6 separate regions of the Homo sapiens genome follow, and all the other regions are linked to region 5. The links are contacts of gene promoters, found by promoter capture Hi-C in blood cells and fetal thymus (Javierre and others, 2016). All regions are on one chromosome and are shown on one strand. The core of a region is centred on a gene start or on the middle of the fragment in contact, and the rest is flanking DNA. Distances in the headings are between cores, read along the strand shown. Region 1 has its middle 8.0 kb from the start of WDR1. Region 2 overlaps ZNF518B (zinc finger protein 518B). Region 3 overlaps WDR1 (WD repeat domain 1). Region 4 has its middle 7.6 kb from the start of ZNF518B. Region 5 holds the start of RAB28 (RAB28, member RAS oncogene family). Region 6 has its middle 27 kb from the start of WDR1.

Region 1 (3,573 bases), core at 1,034-3,533, 3.4 Mb after region 5:
TTTCACCGTACAGTGGGGTAGGGCTTCTGGGAGTACGAGATTGCTGATATAGAAGGATCAATTCTAATAGTGCATGCAAAGGAGGCAGTCAGATCCCTTGCTGCTTGCCTTCACTTTTAAGTGACTGGCATCACCCACCACCCACTGTATTGTCCAAACCATAGCTTCATCATCCCTGGGCTCCTTTCCTCTGACATCCAGGACAATGCTGCGTGTGTCCCCTGCCTGCACATGTCAGGCTTGCTACCCTCCAATCCTCCGTAGGCCACCACTCACAATGGCCCAACTCCAGTGTCCCAGGCTGGTCCATTTAACCCCACCCTCCACAGGGAGTAGTGACCCCAACAAGTCAATCTGATCCACATCACGCTTGACACATCCTGATGGCATCTGATCATGAGGTCATTGGGGAACCTCCATGAAGCAGCCCCAGCCACTCGCCCTGGCTCTAATTTCCCAGCCCTACTTCCATTCCACACGGGTATTCAGGGAGACTCCATTCCTTTGCCAAGCATATCACATACTACTCTATGCTCTTCACATCCTTCACATATCAACTTTAGAGTCCTACAAGAGCCTCCCTGACCTTCACACAGAAGAGATAACATGTTCCTATTTTCCATAGTACCTCCAGCCACCTAACATGTACATGACATTCGAGCACTTCTAATATGACCAGGCCTTAAGAGCCTGCGTTTTATCCTTATAACGCACCAACAATTTGTATTACAGAGGGGAAATAAGTGACTAGGCACCAAGCTCCAGAATACTGCATTCGTGTCTGACCCTTTGGTGTTCGGTAGACATGTGAGGTGCATACATGACTCTAGATGTTCACAATCCCACAGGTTGTGATAGTCCACATGATCAAGGTATCTTGCTACGTTGGCTTCACAATTCCTCCACGGTCAAGGTTGATACCCAAAAACACTTTGCTTGGAGGCTCCTTTTGAAGCTGGGTATTGATGTGGAGTGGGAGAACATTTGGGAGGGCTGAAGTAAGCTTTGTGAACCAAATAGACACCCAGTGGCTGACACCAGCTCTTATGACTGAGCACTTGCAGTTTCCAGGTTTCAAATATTACAAGGAACACAACGTTGATTTCACCACCCAGCATTTTAAGACCATTCCTACAAATCATATGGGGAACAAATTAGAGACCACTTTCCCGTACTACCTAAGATGAGATTGAAAATCATTTAACATCCAGTATGCCAGGCAAGCACTAGGTATGTGGCTGACCTGCCGACACTATACTGCCTCGGTCATCTTTAATCTGCAGCAGGGCCAAGTCTCTCAGGGTCCCCCGTGTCCCACGTGTGTAGAAGCCTCCACTGTGGCCACAACTGCAGCATCTTTCCCAATAGGACATAACTACCAATTTAACAGCTGTGCCTAAATGTACCTCGAAAAGCAGACAAAAATTAAAATCCTTTTACGGAGTCCATGCCAGTTGCCAGATATTCCAGAATGTGTCGAGCTACTCGGTCTATCAGCTTCATCGGAGTCTGAGCTCATTCATCTAAAACTTCCCCCTTTGATGTTTTCCCTTATTGAGGAGCCTCCTTCTACATGAACCTGAGTTGCCTGTGTATGGTAGGGACTTCCTGTCCAATCCCAGCAATGCCATCGGGAATGACTGGAACCCTCCCAGACCGGAACAAAGTGGACCGAGGTCCTTGTCTAGACCTAGGGCCCAAGCCAGGGACATTGAGACAGCACCCACTCCTGGTTGCTTTGTGGCCACCACCATCCTCCGGGTCATGCCTAGAAGCAGGAGTACTTTTATGGCCACAGCAGCCGAGCTAAGAAACTGGTCCCACGGTCCCCAAAGGCGGGGGAGATGCCAACTCCTCAAATGCTCCAGTGGTTGTTTTCTAAGGCAGCCATGTGTTTTAGGCCGCTTCATTAGAGCATTTTAGGATGAAAGCCAAAACCAGGGTCAGAGATAGGGAAGCACTTTTCAGTCACTTCCTCAGTGATTCCTTTGCCAGGCAGATATAGTGCAGGCACCTAGCCTCTTGATCCAGGTTGTGCCTTAAGTCCAGTTTCCCCAAGGGCTGGTGCCCCAGAATGGGTGGCAACACTTTACAGTGTGACCACTGCCACTGTCAACAAGGTGGGTCACCGCAACTCAACCGCCTCTGCCTTGTCCCCAAGGCGCTGAGAGGCTGGTGGTTGGGGCTTTACGGGTGGGAGGATGACAGGGCAAGCCCTACCTTCAATATAGATGAAACTCAGCCCCTACAGTGAAGTATTTTCTCAGTGTGTGACCTTGTTTAGAGACAGGGTGGCCTGCTGCTGCAATTAAGATGAAGTAAAACTCAAAGTGGGCCCTACTCCCATAGGACCAGTGTCCTTTAAACAGGGAAGCGGAAACAGGCACAGGGAGAAGACATTAAGGATGAAAACAGGGATGGGGTGGTGGTCCCACAGGCCAAGGAGCAGAGATGCCAGCAGACCATCAGAAGCTAGAGGCCTGAAACAGTCTTCACAGCCTGGCAAGGAGCCAACCACACCCCACCTCTTGATCTCAGATTTCCTGGCTTCCAGAAAAGAATTTCCGTTGAAACCACCAAGTTCATAGCAGTTTGTTATGCCAGCCCTAGCAGAGCAGTACAGCTTCCCAGCCACATGCAGATCTCAACTACCAGATCCCCACTGCTGGGATGGGCAATGTCTACCCAGAAACACCACCCACTTGGAGGGAGCAGATCAGAGCACCTGTTTACCACAGGCAGGCAGAGCCTGAGTCAAAGGAGCAAAGGGCTGAATGACACATGTCCAAGTTCCCTAGGCCCATCCGCAGTGCGATTCCCCCCCTCCCCCACAGGGAGGCATGCGAACGGAGAGGCAGGGCATCCAGCTGGTCACTGTCTCCATGGCAACAAATACAAGAGCCCTCCTCCACTAACAATCTATGTCCATCCTGTTTGGCAGAAAAGCTGACCCTTTGGTCCACGTGTTGAGGGAAGCCGACTATAAAGGCAGCTAATAGCAGAAGTGTTTGGAAATGGCCGGAGGCCACCGCCAAGGAACCAGGGGCAGCATTGGGAGGTGCTGGCAGGAGCTGTGATGGATTTGTGGCTGTGTCAGGGCTCAAAGATCCTCAGCACTCCTGGAAAAGAGGGCTGGGATCCAGTTCTGTTTAACAGTCTTGAACACTCAAACACAGGGTGTTGAGATCTAGAGTTTCTATGCTCATGGAGCAGAGGAAGGACCCAAGCCCTCAGGCCAATGGGCAAGAAGGCCACACCACAGGGTCTGTACAAGGAGACTCGCTGCAGCGAACAGCCTCATGACCGGAATCTCCATATCAGCAACAGGCACTGGCACAGCCCTCAGACCAGACCCCCACAGCACCACAGGATGCCCAGTGACCACGTAGCCAAGCCCCTGCACTGTGGGCACAAAACAAGCCAGACACCGGTGCTCAACAGCCAAACACGTTAGCTCTGACCACACAACTGGAGGCCAGCAAAGACCCAGGCACTGTGGACTGAGTCAGAAGGAAAAGGCAGAAACCCTAGGACGGTAAGTAGTTACCCAAAGACAAAGCTTTCAACTGGAGA
Region 2 (3,516 bases), core at 88-2,587, 3.0 Mb after region 5:
ACTAACAACACTAATGATGGCCCAGTCATCTCATCAGTATTTTCTCTGAGCTCTGGATCTGAAAATGTCCCCGAGGGCATTAAGTGGAATAGCTCAACGTCTAAAATAAAGTCAATTGAACTGTTGCGCAGAAAGATAGCTCAGTTAATTGAGTCCTGTGGGAAGCCGTCATCTTTGGCTTCAAATAGTGCACATCGTCGCTCTGTAGGGCAGGCATCAAAGGGAACTTCAAAAGCTACCTCTGAAGGTATTCAAGAAATCAACGTGTCACTCACTGGTCTTGGCCATTCCACAGGTACTCTTCAGAAACCTCCGAATGATGGTGGTATTACTGGTAATAGACAGCTTACTCATCAACAAATATATCCACACTTTGCAGATGGCAGTAATAGGAAAACCAAAAGCAGAGTGGCCAGGAAGGCTCATGTTGCCACGCCAGTGTTAATCCCCAAAGGGGCTGTGTTGAGGGTTCTTAATTCCTCTGAGAATGCCCACATCATAGAGGCTACATGTGAAGCACCTGTCAGCATACCTTGCAGTGAAAGACAGTTAATAAAACCAGTTCCATTTTGCCCTGTGAGACAGGCGGACTCAGACTTACAGCCTTTAAGAAGTGAAAGGGGGCCAATAGATATGTCCCCAAATATCGAGACACCTCTGCGGCCTAAACTGAGAAAAGAGAGTGCTGTCTGTAGCACCATCCATAGAAAAACTGGCCTCTTGTATGGACAGCAAGGAAGCAGTGAATTAAATAAGCAAGGGAGACTGCTTTCCAGAAGTCTTTCTATAAGTAGAAATAAAACCAAACAAGTACACTTATCCAGGAAGAAAAACAAAATTCAAGCTGAACCTAGCCGCTGTCTCAAGGATCCTTCAATTTTTCAGGTTGCAAGGCAACTAAGACTGATAGCAGCTAAGCCAGATCAGTTGATTAAGTGTCCCCGTCGGAACCAGCCAGTCATTGTGTTAAACCACCCTGATGTGGACTCGCCAGAAGTGACCAATGTGATGAAGGTAATAAATAAATACAAAGGCAATGTCCTCAAAGTTGTTTTATCAGAGAGGACTAGGTGTCAGCTAGGCATCAGACGGCATCATGTACGCCTGACCTACCAGAATGCGGAAGAAGCCAGTCAAATTAAAAGGCAAATGATGTTGAAAATGAAACTCAAAAAAGTTCATAAAAACAACTACCAGGTAGTGGATTCCTTGCCTGATGATTCTTCACAGTGTGTATTTAAGTGCTGGTTTTGTGGGCGACTGTATGAAGACCAGGAAGAGTGGATGAGTCATGGCCAACGGCATTTGATAGAAGCAACTAGAGATTGGGATGTTCTTTCCTCCAAGGGCAAATAAGTAAACAGTTACTCTTTAAAGCAAGTTATCTTTTAGTTTATTCTGGTTTGGAGTCCCTCCACCAAGATTCAGTAGAAGAAATACAGACTGTAGAAATGAGAGGACTGCTAATTCTTCAGAACTGTAGGAATATTGGGAGCTAGGAGTCTGAACCTGAAGTATGTGATTGGACCCCAGAATGTATTTGAAGGCTCTGAAATTGTACATGCAAATTGGTACATATGCATTTTTCTGGAGAGAGCCTGTGAAACTGAACAGATTTTCAGTGGGATCTGAGACTTTTCTTTGTTTAGCACCCCGTTTTCTGAGTACATACTGATCTTTCATAATCCATTCAGAGGGGCAGATTGAGAATGTTTTACACATGCTCTTCATATAAATGCTACAGAAAAACCTTTGTTTTGGTGTGCACATCCATTTTGTTTTTGCTTTAATTTGTGTTCTGAGTATTTGGTGCACAATGGAAATTATATTTTCTACTTTACTGTCTTCAATTTGGTTATAGAGAAATGGCCATTCTTTTACTCCCTCCCTGGTTTTGTAATACTCCCGAGTGTTCCGTATAGCACAAAGAGTTTTGCTTTTACTGGCCATTTTAAAGAATGTTTTCAACTGCTTGCCTGAATTTACTCCTTTCACAGCAAGTGTTAGAAGAAAGATAACATTTTCAAATACTTAGCTTTTGCTTTCTTTAAAATACATTGGTTTATGACATATGGGAAGGGAACGTACCTTTTTGCAAAGACAAAAAGAGATTACAAAAGGAAAATATCTAAAACTATTTTCTCTTTGCCCTTACCACTCCCAGAAACATAAGTGACCAATTTAAAATGCTAGGGAACAGGCTTACAACATAGGTAAAACTCGCAAACACAGTTCAAGGTAGGCTCATAAAGTTGTGAAAAGGGTTTCATATGCCCTTTAGTTTTCATTTGGGATTCATCCAAAGACCATGGGTGGATGCTGTCTTCTCTCTTCTTGATCCCTTTGATTCATGGACACTAGACTCCCTTTGCCATTTCTTCTGAACCGGCCCTCCTGTGGACTAGCACAACTTCCTTGCCCACTGTTTCTTCCTTTCTGTGCCTTTGAGACCCCTTAAGGTTTTCCCTCATGCGATTACTAGAAAATGGCAGGAATCAACAAAATGGAGACCTCCCACTGTTTTTGCTAAAGTTACAGGAACACGATCCCTAGTTTTCATTGATAGTAACGCTGTTTCTAATTTGTCTTAACCACATTCATGCTTACCCTGCTGCTCAGCTTTCTCAGGGAAGCAACTCCAGGAACACTCCTTCCACTCCCCTCTCTACCAACAGATGTCAGGACTGTCATTTATCTACACATTTGTGTTCTTTAGAAAAAGGCCCACCCCCTGCACAAGCACAGCCTCTTGGGCAGATAGGTGGCTGGGTCAGTGCTTAAGACAGGATTCTAGTCTTCACTTGCCTGTGCAGCTGGGCGCTGACCTTCCAGGTAGAGCACAGATGGCACAACCCCGAGGCAGCCCCAACTTGCATTTCCCTCCCTCCAGGGGCTATTCCTGTCTTAGGCGATTTGTGGGGTGCAGTGAATGAAACTAAAGAGTTGTTGCACCTGAAAAAGACACCAGTGATTGTTTATTGGGTAGTCGATTGGAGACTTTGATTTTTTTTTTTTTTTTTCACATGGGAAAGTCTTAGATTCCAGTAGATGGAATTGCAATCCTTTGCAGTTTGTTCTCATTACAGATAATCAACATTTCTTTTGTATAATTCAATACATGATCATCAAGTTAATTGGTAAATTTTTATTGAAATTTAAAACTTGCATTTTTATATATGTGTATGTGTACACATAAAAATATTTTTTACCATATGAAAATTGCAGTAGCTAATTTTCTGATTTCCTATTTTATAATGATACATGGGCTGGAAAAATGTAGAACGTTTTTATATTCTAGAAATTTATTTTGGAAGTACATTTTTATAAGGGTCTAATCTCACTTTTGGAAAATGAAAGCACAGGAATGATGGGGTCTGGTTTATGTGAACAAGTGAGTAGAAACCCCTTTGGATCATTTTATTACTGCATTTTTATTTGGTGCTTTTTAGGAAGTAGATCTTTGGTACCACTTCACTACGTAGAGCATTCGAAGTTTTATCCATGTTATATATTGTA
Region 3 (3,228 bases), core at 202-2,701, 3.4 Mb after region 5:
CAAATGATGTGTAGTCCAAGGTGGAAAGTAGTGAGGGCAGTGGGGTGGGAGTCAGGGAAGGTGGGGGTTCAGGGTGGGAGAGATGATTTCTAGCTTGGAGCATCAGGGAAGGCTGCTTGGAGGAGAAGCCCTTTGCCTGGGCCTTAAAAGATAATTAGGAGAAGGCGTTGTGTTGTCGCAGAAGTTTACATTCCTGCTTTGGAGCTGAGGTTTTTTGCTGTCATTCAGCCTTGGCCTTAGTTGTAGTCACCAGTGAACATAAGGGCCCTGGCCAGTTATATTTGCACAGGTCAGTTACAGCAGTAACAGCTTTCAGCCTCTGTTGCTTGCAGGAACTTGGAGTATTTACAAAGCCAGTGCCCTGACTGGAAGCTCACGCTCACTTGGCCTGGGTGGACCATGGAGGACGCCTGAGACTTTCTCTGGGGTTCCCGGGGACAGTTGGCAGCTAAAGGAGGGCACAGCAGGCCCCTTCATCAGTGTTGTGTCGTCATCTGCTGAAATGTTTTTTGCTTGGGCAGGTATCTCCAACCTTCTAGCATGTTCCATCAGGTTCACTGTGGGCCAGGAGCTGAGATACCAGTGGCAAGCCTTGAGACCCAAGCCCCAGGACCCAGGGTCATCACAGCCTACCTGTAAATTGGAGTAGTGACCTCTGGCCCCTCCGTCACCCACCTGAGACTGGGAGGACATAGGAAAGTAAGAGAGCTTTGAGGGGCTCAGGGCTCACTAATTGTAAATGTTGCTGCCTGGGGCATAACAGAGTTACGGAAATGTCGCTTCTGTGTGCTTGTTTGCATGACCTGTGTATTATAGCGAGTCTCAAAGGCGGCACAGACATTGTACAGGTGCCGGGGGGGAGTATGTTTAGGTTTGCCATTCAACAGGATTCTCAGAAAAAGACCAGCTATTCCTGGGCAGGATGCCTCAGTGCACAGGTGGGAGGTGGGGGCTGGTGGGACCTGAGCATAGTGTGACAGAGTAGAATGGCCTCCCGGGTCAAGTCCAAAGCTTCTGCTTCAAATGGGCACCACTGGGCCTTGAACCAGGCCCTGTGTTGGCAGGGCTGGGTGCTGTTACATGCTGTCACTTGCCGAAGTCCGTGGGTCCTGGGTCTGCTCGCGTGTGTGACTCCTTGATTGCTGGCTGGTGTCCTTCATGTCCTCAGAGGCCCCCGGACTCCTCCAGGGGTGGTGGCAGAATTCTGGGGCTTGTCTCGAGGTCTTATCCCAGCCCCAGCTCTGGCCCTCACAGGCCCTAGCCCCCAGGTGTGGAGGCCACTGGGGAAGGGGTCTGGGGCCAGCAAGGTAGAGGGGCTGCACCTGTTCTATCCTCAAGGGTTGGGGTGAGGGGCCATGGGTTGGGGTAGTCAGCCCAAGGAGTGGCTGGCAACGTCAGGGCGGCAGCAGGGTAGCGACGAGTGGGCTGAAGCCTGGAGGGAGCTCAGGAAGGGTGGGTTGCAAGCCGGACCGTGAGGTAATCAGGGTCGGGATTTGAAGACTACCGGCTTGGTGGAGGGTGGAGATGCATTCCAAAGCAGTTATCGCTCTTCCCAGGAAGAACAGGAGGACTGCATTGAAAATGGTGGAGGTAAAAGAGAAGATGGGTTGGGAGTTGGCAAGGAAAACTGGGCAGGCCTGTGGTGAGGACTGAACGGCAGCCTCCCACTGCCAGAGCTGGCCCAGCCTGCAGCAGCATGAGAAGAAAGCCTGGGAGGAGGGGTGTCCCTGAGTGGGCAACTCCAAGGCTGCTCATGGTGGTCTCCCCCAGGCCCCCAGGGAGATGGGGAGACAGAACTTTTGCCTACAGTAGCACTGGGGCTCCTGGAATTGGCTTCCTGCCCTCCCTGTCTCGTTTTCCCCATTCCAGAGTTTTTCCCCAAATAAGCTTCTCAACCCCCAATCTCATTCTTCTTCCCCAAGATGGAAGGAGGGGGAGGAGGCTGGGGGGAGAGGGGCACACTGAGGGTGTCAAGGTGCCATCTCGACCCAGCTGATGGGGACAGAGCCTCACAGGCCGAGTGACACGTGGGGGTGTGAGGTATCTTTCTGGGTGTAGTAAGCAGCCTCCCTCTGCGAGCTGAGGAGCTGGGGAGGAGGCTGCTCTGACTCAGATGTAAGTCATTATCTGCAGTTTGGAGTATCTCAGCCCCCACCGCTGACCCAGTTGTATTTAGAATACAAACGAGAGTGAGTGATTCATCAGCTGGCAGGATTCTGTTGCCCTTTGGGGTTTTTACACACAGCCCTGACCATTTAGGGGAAGGAATTTTTAGGGGCAGAACTTCCTCTCATGCCCCTGCCCAGGCATCTTCCATCTCTGGATGCCCTCCCCAGCGGAAGGCCCATGGGAGCCCCACCCTTTCTACGGCAGCACGGCCTGGGGAGGAGGTCGTCCAGGCTGGGAGAGCCCACGAGGCCATCTGTCTGGCGGGATGGGCAGGTGCCCCTGTATGTGAGCGTGAGACCTCCCCCATCCCCAGTCAGCTGTGAGTGTACACCGAACAGGGTCTTGGAGGGGCTGCCTGTTAAGTGGATCATTTTCTTGCCAGGTGCTTTGGGTAGGGATGTGTCAGTGTCAGAATATGAAGGACTAATTGGAGTGGGAGAGGGTTGGATTGGGCAGACATTTAATAAATAGCCAGCATCTTAGTTTTATTGAGGTGTACTTTAGATACAGTAGAATTTGTCTGTATTCAGTGTGTGGCTTGGATCTTGACAGATGACCTATATAGTCCCATAAGCACCACCCCTGTCATGACAGAACATTCCTGTCACTCCGGAGGGTGCCCCCCGCCCCCGCCACCCCTTCCACCCTCACCCCCAGCAGCTGCTTATCTGCTTTCTGTCATTGGGGTTGCCTTTTCTAAAATCTTCTTTCATATGAAGTGAGAGGCAATGTGTAGTCTTTTCTGTCTGGCTTTTTCACTTTGCATAACATGTTGGCGATTGATAGCTGGTGTTGAGTGCATTTGCACTTTGTTCCTTTCTATCACTAAGCAGTGCGGTGTGTTGCCTGTTTCTCTGTTCACCTGTTGATGGATATTTGGGTATTTCCAGTTTTTGGCCATTGCAAAGAAAGCTTCTGTGAACATTGCTCCTGTGTCTTTTGGTGGACACATGCTTCCATTTCTCCAGGGCAGATACCTAGGAGTGGGGTTGCTGGTGTTTGGTGTGAGTAGTGTCTGTTTAGGTTTATAAATAACCTGCCCAACTCTTTTCCAACTGT
Region 4 (3,140 bases), core at 252-2,751, 3.0 Mb after region 5:
GTTTGTGGTAATTTGTTATAGCAGCCATAGGAAATAATGCAGTTGGCTTTCCAATAAGAAGACTTAACTGAAGACAGGGCTGGCTTCAAGGGCATGTGATCTGTGCAGTCACACAAGTCCCCACACTTACAGGGACCTCATGGTTGGTTTAATGCTCTATGTCTTTACAAGATTAATGATATTTCGAAAAAAGAACTCCACATATTCATTTTGCATGGGGCCCTGTCACTTACGTACTCAGTCTTAACTAAAGATAACATATTTGACATATTTTGGGCATAGCATTCTTTTTCTTATATTTTTCTGTTATTAAGATTTTCTAGGCCGGGTGTGGTGACTCATGCCTGTAATCCTAGCACTTTGGGAGGCCAAGACAGGCAGATCACTTGAGGTCAGGAGTTCAAGACCAGCCTGGCCAACACGGTGAATCCCCGCCTCTACCAAAAATACAAAAATTAGCCAGGTGTTGTGGTGCCCACCTGTAATCCCAGCTACTTGGGAGGCTGAGGCAGGAGAATTGCTTGGACCTCCACCTCCTGGGTTCAAGAAATTCTCCTGCCTCAGCCTCCCAGGTAGCTGGGATTACAGGCATGCGCCACCATGCCCGGCTAATTTTCGTATTTTTAGTAGAGTCGGGGTTTCATCATGTTGGCCAGGCTCGTCTCGAACTCCTGGCCTCAAGTGATCCGCCTGCCTCAGCCTCCCAAAGTGTTGGGATTACAGGTGTGAGTCACCCAGCCCTGCCCAGTCTTTCTTTCTGAGCAGCTATGTGCCCAGTAAGAAATTGTAGGAAGGTCATAATTAAGGAAAAAAGAGGAGAGACAGATTTAGGGTAACAACTACCAGACTGGGCTACTACTGCAACCTTAAACTAATTATATGTTTTGGTGGGTTGTCTAGCAACGTTTCACAGAGTATTTCTAAAAGGGGCTTAAAGGCCCATGGCGTCCATATATCTAGCTAAAAGTGGGGTTCCATTAAGAAAAAAGAGAAAGCATATTGGGTAAAACCTGGCAGCTTCCAACATAACTACGATCACTACATTGTATGTATCAGACTTTTCCTAAAGAGTCACAGAAACAGTGAAAAAACAATTTATTATATTGCTCATTCTTAAAAGTCTGTGACCACCTAACTTCTGGAAATTTATCTAGAACACCTTTCACCTTAGGGTGCTTTCTCTACTCTGAACTTTTCTCTCAAGTTTTCCTAACCTCAAATTCCAGGGAGCCAAAACTATAAAAACTCTAGAAGAAAATCTAGGCAATACCATTCAGGACAGAGGCACAGGCAAAGATGTCATGACGAAAATGCCAAAAGCAATTGCAATGAAAGCAAAAATTGACAAATGGGATCTAATTAAACTAATGAGCTTCTGCACAGCAAAAGAAATTATCATCAGTGTGAACAGACAACCTACAGAAGGGGAAAAAATTTTTCTGATCTATCCATCTGACAAAGGTCTATCATCCAGAATCTACAAGGAACTTAAACAAATTTACAAGAAGAAAACAACCTTATTAAAAAGTGGGCAAAGGACGAGAAAAGACACTTCTCAAAAGAAGACATACACTTAGCCAACAAACCTGAAAAAAAGCTCAACATCATTAATTATTACAGAAATGCAAATCAAAACCACAAGGAGAAACCATTTCACGGCAGTCAGAATGGCTATTATTAAAAAGTCAAAAAAGAACAGATGCTGGTGAGATCGCGGAGAAATAGGAACACTTTTACACTGTTGGTGGGCGTGTAAATTAATTCAACCATTGTGGAAGACAATGTGGCGATTCCTCAAAGACCTAGAGGCAGAAATGTCATTTGACCCAGCAATCCCATTACTGGGTATGTACCCAAAGGAATATAAATTATCCTGTTATAAAGATACATGCAGGCATATGTTCACTGCAGCACTCTTCACAATAGCAAAGACATGGAATCAACCCAAATGCCCATCAATGATAGGCTGCATAAAAAAAATGCGGTACATGTACACATGGAATACTATGCAGCCATAAAAAGAAATGAGATCATGTCCTTTGTACGGACTTGAATGGAGTTGGAAGCCATTATCCTCAGCAAACTAACACAGGAACGAAAACGAAACACCGCATATTCTCACTTGTAAGTGGGAGCTGAATAATGGGAACACATGGACACATGGTGGGGAACAATAAACACTGGGGTCTGTCAATGGGGGTAGGGAGAGCAGCAAGAATAGTTAATGGATGCTGGGCTTAACACCTAGGTGATGGGATGATCTGTGCAGCAAACCACCATGGTACACGTTTACCTGTGTAACAAACCTGCACATCCTGCACATGTACCCCAGAACTTAAAGTGAAAGTTGAAGAAAAGAAAAGAAAAATTCCTGGGAGCTATGCTGTTCTCCTAATGCTGTTCTCCTTATGCTGTTCTGAATAAGGAGTAAACTCTGCTTTAGGTCTGGGAAGTGAGGTCTCCAAGGCAAGCTCTGGAATTTCATTTTTCTTAATAAAAATGGTTTCTCCCCAAGAGAAATTCCAGTGGCAGATGTTGATGTAACAATGTTCTCAACCTGCTTATTTGCTAAATAAATGAATCATTTACATTTTTCTTTACAGGGTTCCTGGATAAACTGGAAAGATAAATTTTCAGGGCTGTCATCCCCTTACTAGTAAGATAAAATATACTTGCGGCCGGGTGCGGTGGCTCATGCCTATAATCCCAGCACTTTGGGAGGCCAAGGTGGGCAGATCACGAGGTCAGGAGTTCGAGACCAGCCTGGCCAACATAGTGAAACCCCATCTCTACTAAAAATACAAAACAATTAGCTGGGTGTGGTGGCAGACGCCTGTAATCCCAGCTACTCGGAAGACTGAGGCAGGAGAATCATTTGAACCTGGGAGGCAGAGGTTGCAGTGAGCCAAAAGCGCATCACTGCACTCCAGTCTGGGCAACAGTGCAAGACTCCATCTCAAAAAAAAAAAAAAAAAAAAGATATACTTACCAAATAGTCATTGATTCAGTAAATATTGTGCCAGTCATTGAAGTAGAATCTCAGTATACAAAAGGAGAGCAACATAGACTACTTTTCTTCCAATGGGCCTTACCATCTATCTAGTACTACCTAGTGCCATCCAGATTTTGTGAAGAGAGAA
Region 5 (3,346 bases), core at 588-3,087:
AGCTATCTAAGGAAGACTGGAAAAGAAATTTTCTTGCATTTTAACTGCCCTCATGGACAAGAAGTGGTTAAGTCTGTCCTCACTGGAAGTAGATTCTTCTCACTAACAAGTACATATCCTCTTTCTTCTAATTCTTATGAATAAATCTGGTGAATAGAAAATTGGTGGTGGCAATGGTGGTGCGGGATTGGGGAAAGAATTGGGTACTAATACTTAACTGGGTACCTATAATTGTGGGCCAGCCCTCTCTGCAGATGAAGAGACTGAGGCTCTACATAAGAAACTTGTATAAGGTAAATTGGCTAGAAAGTAGTGACACTTCCAACACGGACCATCATCTAATTATGATGATGATGAGGGTGATAGTTACACTGGTTAATATTGAGTGCTTACTACACACCAGGCATTGTGCTATCTACTTTATGCCGATTATTTCATTTAATTTTCAAACCTACACAAAGGCAGTAGTCTGTTCTACAGGTGAACTAACTGAGGCTCGAGGACACATATCTAGTAAACATGAGATTAAACTCCAGTGATGCCTCTAGGTCTGGGCATTTCTTTACACTGTTCTGCTTTCCTGTTCTAATGCCCATATGGTCTCCAAGACTACTGCCTCTGGGCTAAGCATTTTGTTAACTTAAGATACTTCATCTGCAAAATGGGGATAATTATACTTCATAATTCCTAATAGTAGTAAAGGTAACAATAAATTTTAAGTGATTAACAATGAAACAACCATAGCAGGACAGCATTATTATTTTTGAATTTACCTCACTAAATTGTAAATTTCATTTATGCCGTTTACCTAACGCTCCTGGACTGAGATTATCCAGGGCAGCAGTTCTTAAATTTTTTGGACTCAGGGCCTCTCTATAATGTTAAAGAATTACTGTGACCTCCAAAGAGCTTATGTTTATGTGGGTTACACCTATCACTACTGCATTGAAATGAAAACTGAGAAATGTTTAAAAACAACAAACGCAAGCTCCCTTAGCTGCCAGTGATGACGTCGTACACAAAGCGTATCCTCCAGGAAACGGTATACTAGTGAGAGAAGGAACGTGAGAAAGACAGACAAGGTGTCCGTATTATTATGAAAATTGTTCTGAGGTCATCGGGATTTCCAGAGGTCCCTAGACCACACTTTATGAGAACTGCTGCCTTAGGGTAAAGATGGGGTGCCAGGAGGTTGGCGATCAGTAGCGTCTGATGAACGAACCATGGGAGCCTGGGGTTGTTCAGATGAGGAAACCAAGAGTTAGGCCGAAATAAGCAGCGCCGGAGCTCCACTGTATTCACGGCCGCTACTGAGGCTTCCCAGCAGCCTCGGCCCTTAGCAGCTGTCCCCTCATCCGCCCCGAGGTACCCTCTTCCCTGGTCCGGTTTTTCAGGGGCCCTCTCTGGCGCTCTCCGCCAGGCTACGGGCGTCCCGGGTGCCCGGAGACAGGCCCCGCCCCGCCGCCGGTCCTCGAACTCCTGGCTGCCAGGCAACCCTGGCGCGTAGCCCGGGCGTCACTGCTCCACCCCGTCAGGCTGAACCATTCCCTTCAGAGACTTTCTCAAGAGGGAAGGAGAAAAGGGAATTTGATGGAACGCCTGAAAGCTGCTCTGCTCCCGTTTTCTCTCCTTAATTTGAACGAACACTTCTTTTCTTCTTCTAGCCAACTGTCTCCTGAAGGGAAACGCAGCGCCTCGCCTCTCCCGCCGGAATGTCCCCCACACCAGTCCAGGGCCGCGAGTGGTTCGGCTCGTCAGGCGGGGCCGCCGGTCGGCGCGGGTTGGCTCTGAGGCGGGGGCGCGCGCCCGACGTGCGCGTAGGGGGCGGGGCCGCGCGCAGAGGGCGGGGAGGTGGGCAAGATGGCGCTTGCCGAGTGATTCTCCTCGAATACCTCCTGCCGGCGCGGAGACACCGGGGCGGGGGTCCTGCCGCAACTACCTCCCTTCCTCCTCTCCCCCGCCCCCGGAGCCTTCATCCTTCCCTTCCCCCCCCACCTCGAGGGGCGGGCCTGGTTCCCGGGACACCATGTCGGACTCTGAGGAGGAGAGCCAGGACCGGCAACTGAAAATCGTCGTGCTGGGGGACGGCGCCTCCGGGAAGGTCAGTCCTCGAGCAGGCCCGCCGTCCCAGGCCTGCAGGAACCCCGGCGGTCCCCGGCCTCCTCCCCGCCGCCCGGCGTCGCCTCGTTACCCCGAGCCCTCGGGCTTCTAGGCCCGGGCCCTTCTGGTTGTGTGGCCTGAGGCCGGACACGAAGTGGGCGCTTGGTGAAGGCCGACGAGAGCTGTCCAGCTCCCCCTTAAAAAAGAGTCACTTCCTAACTCCCCGCCTGGATTGCGAACTCCTGCAAGACTCGGGCCAGCCTTTCAGCTTCCCGCCTCTCAGGACTGGCAGGGATTTGCCAAGGCATCTTAGCTCCTCTTACTTGTAGTCTGGGTCACACTTACTCCTCCCCTCCCACCCCCTTTACCGTTTCTGATGCTTCTACTGCATCGTGAGCTCCCAGGAGCGTAGCTCTGGAATCAGTATTCCCCGGGTGAGAATTGGGGCTCTGCCACTTAGTCGTCGGGTCATTGGAGGGCAAATTGCTAATCAGTTTAAGCTTCATCTGTAAGATGGGTATTGAAAAGGGCCGCCGCAAAGGGAGAAATGTGAAAATACATATTAAATGTGAAAATACACATAAAACCTTTAGAGCACAGTGTCCACTCAGTACACTCTAGTTGCTATTTTAATATCATACCTGTTCATCACCTCTGTTTCCAGCTCAGCACTCGATACAAGCAGTCAGTCAACAAGTGTTTATGGAGCTCCTGTTACGGGTAGGATGCTGAGGGTAGAGCTGCTTGCGTGACAAAAGGGATCCCCTGTTCGAATGAATGAATGCGGGCGTGAGAATATCAGGCAGCGTCAGTCTTATTATCTCCTAGGCAGGGGCTCCTACCCCAAGGCTGTGGAACTCCTGAAATGGAGTAAATACTGCCCGGTACGTGCTCTGGGGAGAGGGTCCATAAGATCTCAGAGGGGTCTATGATCCCTCCACCAGCAAATAGTGAAGAGCCTCTACCCGGATGCCTTCTTTCCCATGCTTCTGTCAAAGGCGCCAACACTTTCTGGGAATATTGCTAAAGTTTATCACCCCTGTACTCCCCTTCCTTATCCCAACCATAGTCTAAAGAAACCCAGGCTTTTATTTCCTGTTTAAGGCTTCACATTTCCCTGTTGCTGGTTGCATTTCGGACCCTGGTTTCTCTGGTGACGACTTCTCTTTGCATCCTCCCTGACAGTTGGCACTGCCCAGATACCTGCTTCTGCCTTTGGTTCTGACATTTGAGTTTCGAGGTCACC
Region 6 (3,252 bases), core at 223-2,722, 3.3 Mb after region 5:
TAGTCAGGTGCACGGGATGACTTATAGCCAGGTGTAACTCGGCCACCCGAGCGCTCCTAGAATAGGCCCATTGACAGCCATCCAACTCCATGGTCCTGACCTGTAACAGACTTCAATTAAGACCTCTATAAAGCCACCATCCCTTAGACAAATCCACCACCCAATCCCTATTCAAGACACAACATGCTGCTCAGTAGGGAGTAGTCTGCCAGCCTTAGTCAGTCCCTCCAAGGGCAGCCCACAGCCATGAACTAGCCAAACCAGCAGTCCTACCCATCTGTGACCTGGAACCACCTTAATGAGATGCTGCCTCTGGAGCTCCCCGACAGGCTCAGTCAAGCTTTACATCCTAGTCTGACCTCTGCCCGATCCTGCTTCCTTCCCCTTTTCACAGGTTTTAAATCTATTACACGTTTTAGACAAACTCTTCCAGTCTTGACTCAGCACCTCCAAGAGCTCAACTGCACCATCTCCATGAACTATTCCACAGCCGACCCAACCTGGCTCAAGGGGGAAAGAAGACTGGCTTGTGATGGCCTCTTCCATAGCCTACCCTTGGTTCACCAGCAGTTTCGAGGCAGTTTGCTAACAAGAAACCCAGTCTGGAACTAGCATATTTGAGTTGCAGTATTTTGGACAGATGTCCTATACTATTTATCTAGTAGCAAGAGTATAGGTCTGGATCCAAGGAGAAATTTCTCCCTCACAACCCACAATGCTCAGGAGGGAGACCATTCATGTTCCATCCCTGCAAGGTTAGTTCTGGCAGGCTAAGACACTGCAGTCCTAGACACTTCCACCAGGGAACAAAAGCAGTGCCACCAGGTTATTCTGAGCTCCTTTGCCTGGAGATCAGGGGTTGCTGATACAGGGAGGAAAGTATATGGGATGTGGGTGAGTCACTAGGGCACTTTTTGGAGCTTCCCAGTGGCTAGGCTTCACAATGGCCATAACCTGACCAGACCAGGATCTCAGACCACTTAGGAACAAAAGACTTTGGTCACCTAAACCAGTCAAGTGTTGGCCAGCTGTGATGTAGTTCGCAGAAGATACAGTGACTATCAACTACATCTTAGAATGACAGTCCTTACAGACCCGATTTGAAACCATAGCTGCCCATCACTTGCAGATCTGACAACATGTCACACACCACCTTCACAGAACTGTCTGGCTGTGAGCATGCTTACCTACTAAGGGCTCTAGCTGTTAGCTCATGTTCCTTTTGGGGTGGCCCCAAGCCAACATTGAGCTGAGCCATTTCCACCTAATGTGGGATTCAAATTGAGGATTATCTTGCTCCAAAGCTCCCTGCTGGACTGGCAAAATTGTCAGGTTCAATTATGATGGGACAGCTTCCCTTTTCTTAAATCGTAGATCTTTTGTATTCCTAATTTAGTGCATATACTTTCCAGACAATTCAACCACACAACCACCATGAGCCATGAGTGTCAGTGGATGTAACGTGGTCCAAGCTGGGAAGTCAGATTCAGCACTGCCTCCTCCCCTACCAACCTGGAAGAACCTTGGCTCTTGGCGAGAAGCAGCTACTAGCACAAAGATGGGGACCACACTGACAAGGCAGCCTCACACCTTCTGACGCTGCACACGGGTCCCCTGCATGCCTGTCCCTCCATGAGTATCAGTAGGCTCCCTTTTCAAAGTTTGGACATCACAGTGAGTTAAGTTTGAGAGGCAGAATCAACACCAAGAAAGTGTCCTGGGGAGCTGTGAGGATATGCTGTCACATTCCGGCGGTTGACTCCTTTACTGAGACTCATCTGTGTGAAATGAGTCGGTGAGGAAGATCAATCAGCCTCGACCAATACAATCTGTACAACCTAAGGTGATCTGGCCTATTCTGCCCAAGCAGTTCAGTCATGAACCACCTGAAGAAGTGGAACCACCAACTCAAAGTCAAGATTCTTCACCTGCTCAGGAGAGAGAGGACGACGGAGCATCTGCAGCTCAAAGCCCTGAGCTGAAAGCTGATTGCCAGGAACTGGTTCAAAGACTGGGTATGAGCATGGAGATGATCCTGATGTGAAGGGGATGTGCCTACTAAACCCCAGAGCCTGGGAAACTGCCAGAAGGTGAAAAGCAATCAGCGTTAAAAGACATGCTGAAATGATGCGGGCTGCTATGTTGGGAATTTGTTCATTCAAAGTTCTCTCAGTTTACAGCCTTCCGGGAGGGGGGAAAAATAGTCTCCAGAGGAGCTGCCCTGCAGAATTTGCTACTGGGTGGGATAATTTATGGTACGCATAGATATTGTCACTTTGCCACAGCATTAACCATTGTGGTGGTTAACACTGAAGTGTCAACTTGAAGGAGGCAAACTATTGTTCCTGAGTATATCTGTGAGGGTGTTGCCAGATAAAAATTTGAGTCAGTGGGCTGCGAAAACCAGACCCAACCCTTCTCATCTGTTGGGCACAATCTAATCAGCTGCCAGCAAATATAAAGCAGGCAGGAAAAATGAAACGGTGAGACTGACCTAGACCCCCAGCCTACATCTTTGTCCCATGCTGGATGCTTCCTAACCTCTCAAACATCGGACTAAGTTCTTCAGTTGAGACTTGGACTGGCTCTGCTCCTCAAGCTTGCAGACAGCCTATTGGGGATCTTATGGTTGTGTAAGTTAATAAACTCCCCTTTATATGTGTGTATCCATCCTATTCTGTTCCTCTAGGAAACCCTGACTAGTATAGCCACCATTATGCGAGTGGTCGGTCACTGACACTTTGGATTTTCAGTTAAGGGAGAGAAAGCTAGTATGTTTAGATAGAACGGCAAGTGGCCAGAGGCATTCCCAAACATTCTGCAGAGACTATCTGGATAGTTTCTTGTTGCCCCCTTGACTTGGTCAACTGCTCACTTGTCCTCACACCTGAGGATCCTTTTATGGTGCCCTCAGGCAGTCAGTGAGATATCAGCCTACAGCTGTTTGCCAAATTCTTGGCAAGGATTCCCAACACCTTGCCCCTCAGGCTTCTAAGGAGGTCTCACCCATGGAATCTTGATTGAATTTCCAAGCCAAACCTCCCATGCTTGGATCTGATGTAAAGATAGTCTTCCAAGCAAAACCAGCTGCCTGGCAAGTTGAACTCAAGTCTTCAGAGATTTAGACCAACAGTAGGGGAACTCTGGATAGAAAGACCCAGATCCTTGCAAGAGCCTGGGAAGTGAAACCTAGGTGTGGGCCACTGTGCAGCATGCTTAATCTTTTATATATCAGAGGTGTCAGTAACTATT

Evidence for each region. The method cuts DNA at HindIII sites, captures the fragments that hold promoters and counts their contacts. A CHiCAGO score of 5 or more calls a contact.
Region 1: a fragment that was not itself captured here is called in contact with the fragment with the promoter of RAB28 in region 5 in 10 of 17 cell types (naive CD4 T cells, total CD4 T cells, neutrophils and 7 more); the score reaches 16.0 in naive CD4 T cells.
Region 2: a fragment that was not itself captured here is called in contact with the fragment with the promoter of RAB28 in region 5 in 7 of 17 cell types (naive CD8 T cells, naive CD4 T cells, non-activated CD4 T cells and 4 more); the score reaches 11.8 in naive CD8 T cells.
Region 3: a contact is called between a fragment that was not itself captured here and the fragment with the promoter of RAB28 in region 5, in 9 of 17 cell types (total CD8 T cells, neutrophils, naive CD8 T cells and 6 more). The highest score is 30.6, in total CD8 T cells.
Region 4: a fragment that was not itself captured here is called in contact with the fragment with the promoter of RAB28 in region 5 in 9 of 17 cell types (non-activated CD4 T cells, naive CD8 T cells, total CD4 T cells and 6 more); the score reaches 30.9 in non-activated CD4 T cells.
Region 6: a contact is called between a fragment that was not itself captured here and the fragment with the promoter of RAB28 in region 5, in 1 of 17 cell types (naive CD8 T cells). The highest score is 6.1, in naive CD8 T cells.

The regions. Positions count from the first base shown.
Region 1 is chr4:10,122,982-10,126,554 of GRCh38, reverse strand. No RefSeq gene overlaps it. Among named protein-coding and RNA genes, the nearest start is that of WDR1, 8.0 kb to the right of the region's middle. RefSeq lists enhancers at 2,800-3,300, 3,301-3,573. The HindIII fragment of the contact is 2,556 bases long and covers 1,006-3,561 here.
Region 2 is chr4:10,440,944-10,444,459 of GRCh38, reverse strand. ZNF518B (zinc finger protein 518B) reads left to right here. Exons shown (of 3, transcript NM_053042.3): 3 at 1-3,516. The coding sequence ends at 1,356. Among named protein-coding and RNA genes, the nearest start is that of ZNF518B, 15 kb to the left of the region's middle. The HindIII fragment of the contact is 4,941 bases long and covers 1-3,516 here.
Region 3 is chr4:10,105,689-10,108,916 of GRCh38, reverse strand. All of the region lies in intron 2 of WDR1 (WD repeat domain 1), which reads left to right. Among named protein-coding and RNA genes, the nearest start is that of WDR1, 9.5 kb to the left of the region's middle. RefSeq lists an enhancer at 719-1,450 and a silencer at 2,061-2,110. The HindIII fragment of the contact is 876 bases long and covers 1,014-1,889 here.
Region 4 is chr4:10,463,460-10,466,599 of GRCh38, reverse strand. No RefSeq gene overlaps it. Among named protein-coding and RNA genes, the nearest start is that of ZNF518B, 7.6 kb to the right of the region's middle. The HindIII fragment of the contact is 8,106 bases long and covers 1-3,140 here.
Region 5 is chr4:13,482,831-13,486,176 of GRCh38, reverse strand. RAB28 (RAB28, member RAS oncogene family) reads left to right here and starts at 1,837. Exons shown (of 7, transcript NM_001017979.3): 1 at 1,837-2,101. The coding sequence starts at 2,027. LOC105374495 (a long non-coding RNA gene) reads right to left here and starts at 1,728. Exons shown (of 3, transcript XR_925413.1): 1 at 1,223-1,728; 2 at 1-16. RefSeq lists silencers at 1,376-1,435, 1,398-1,692, 1,686-2,305 and enhancers at 1,576-1,695, 955-1,862, 1,658-1,952. The HindIII fragment of the contact is 2,971 bases long and covers 1-2,602 here.
Region 6 is chr4:10,142,215-10,145,466 of GRCh38, reverse strand. No RefSeq gene overlaps it. Among named protein-coding and RNA genes, the nearest start is that of WDR1, 27 kb to the right of the region's middle. The HindIII fragment of the contact is 2,259 bases long and covers 343-2,601 here.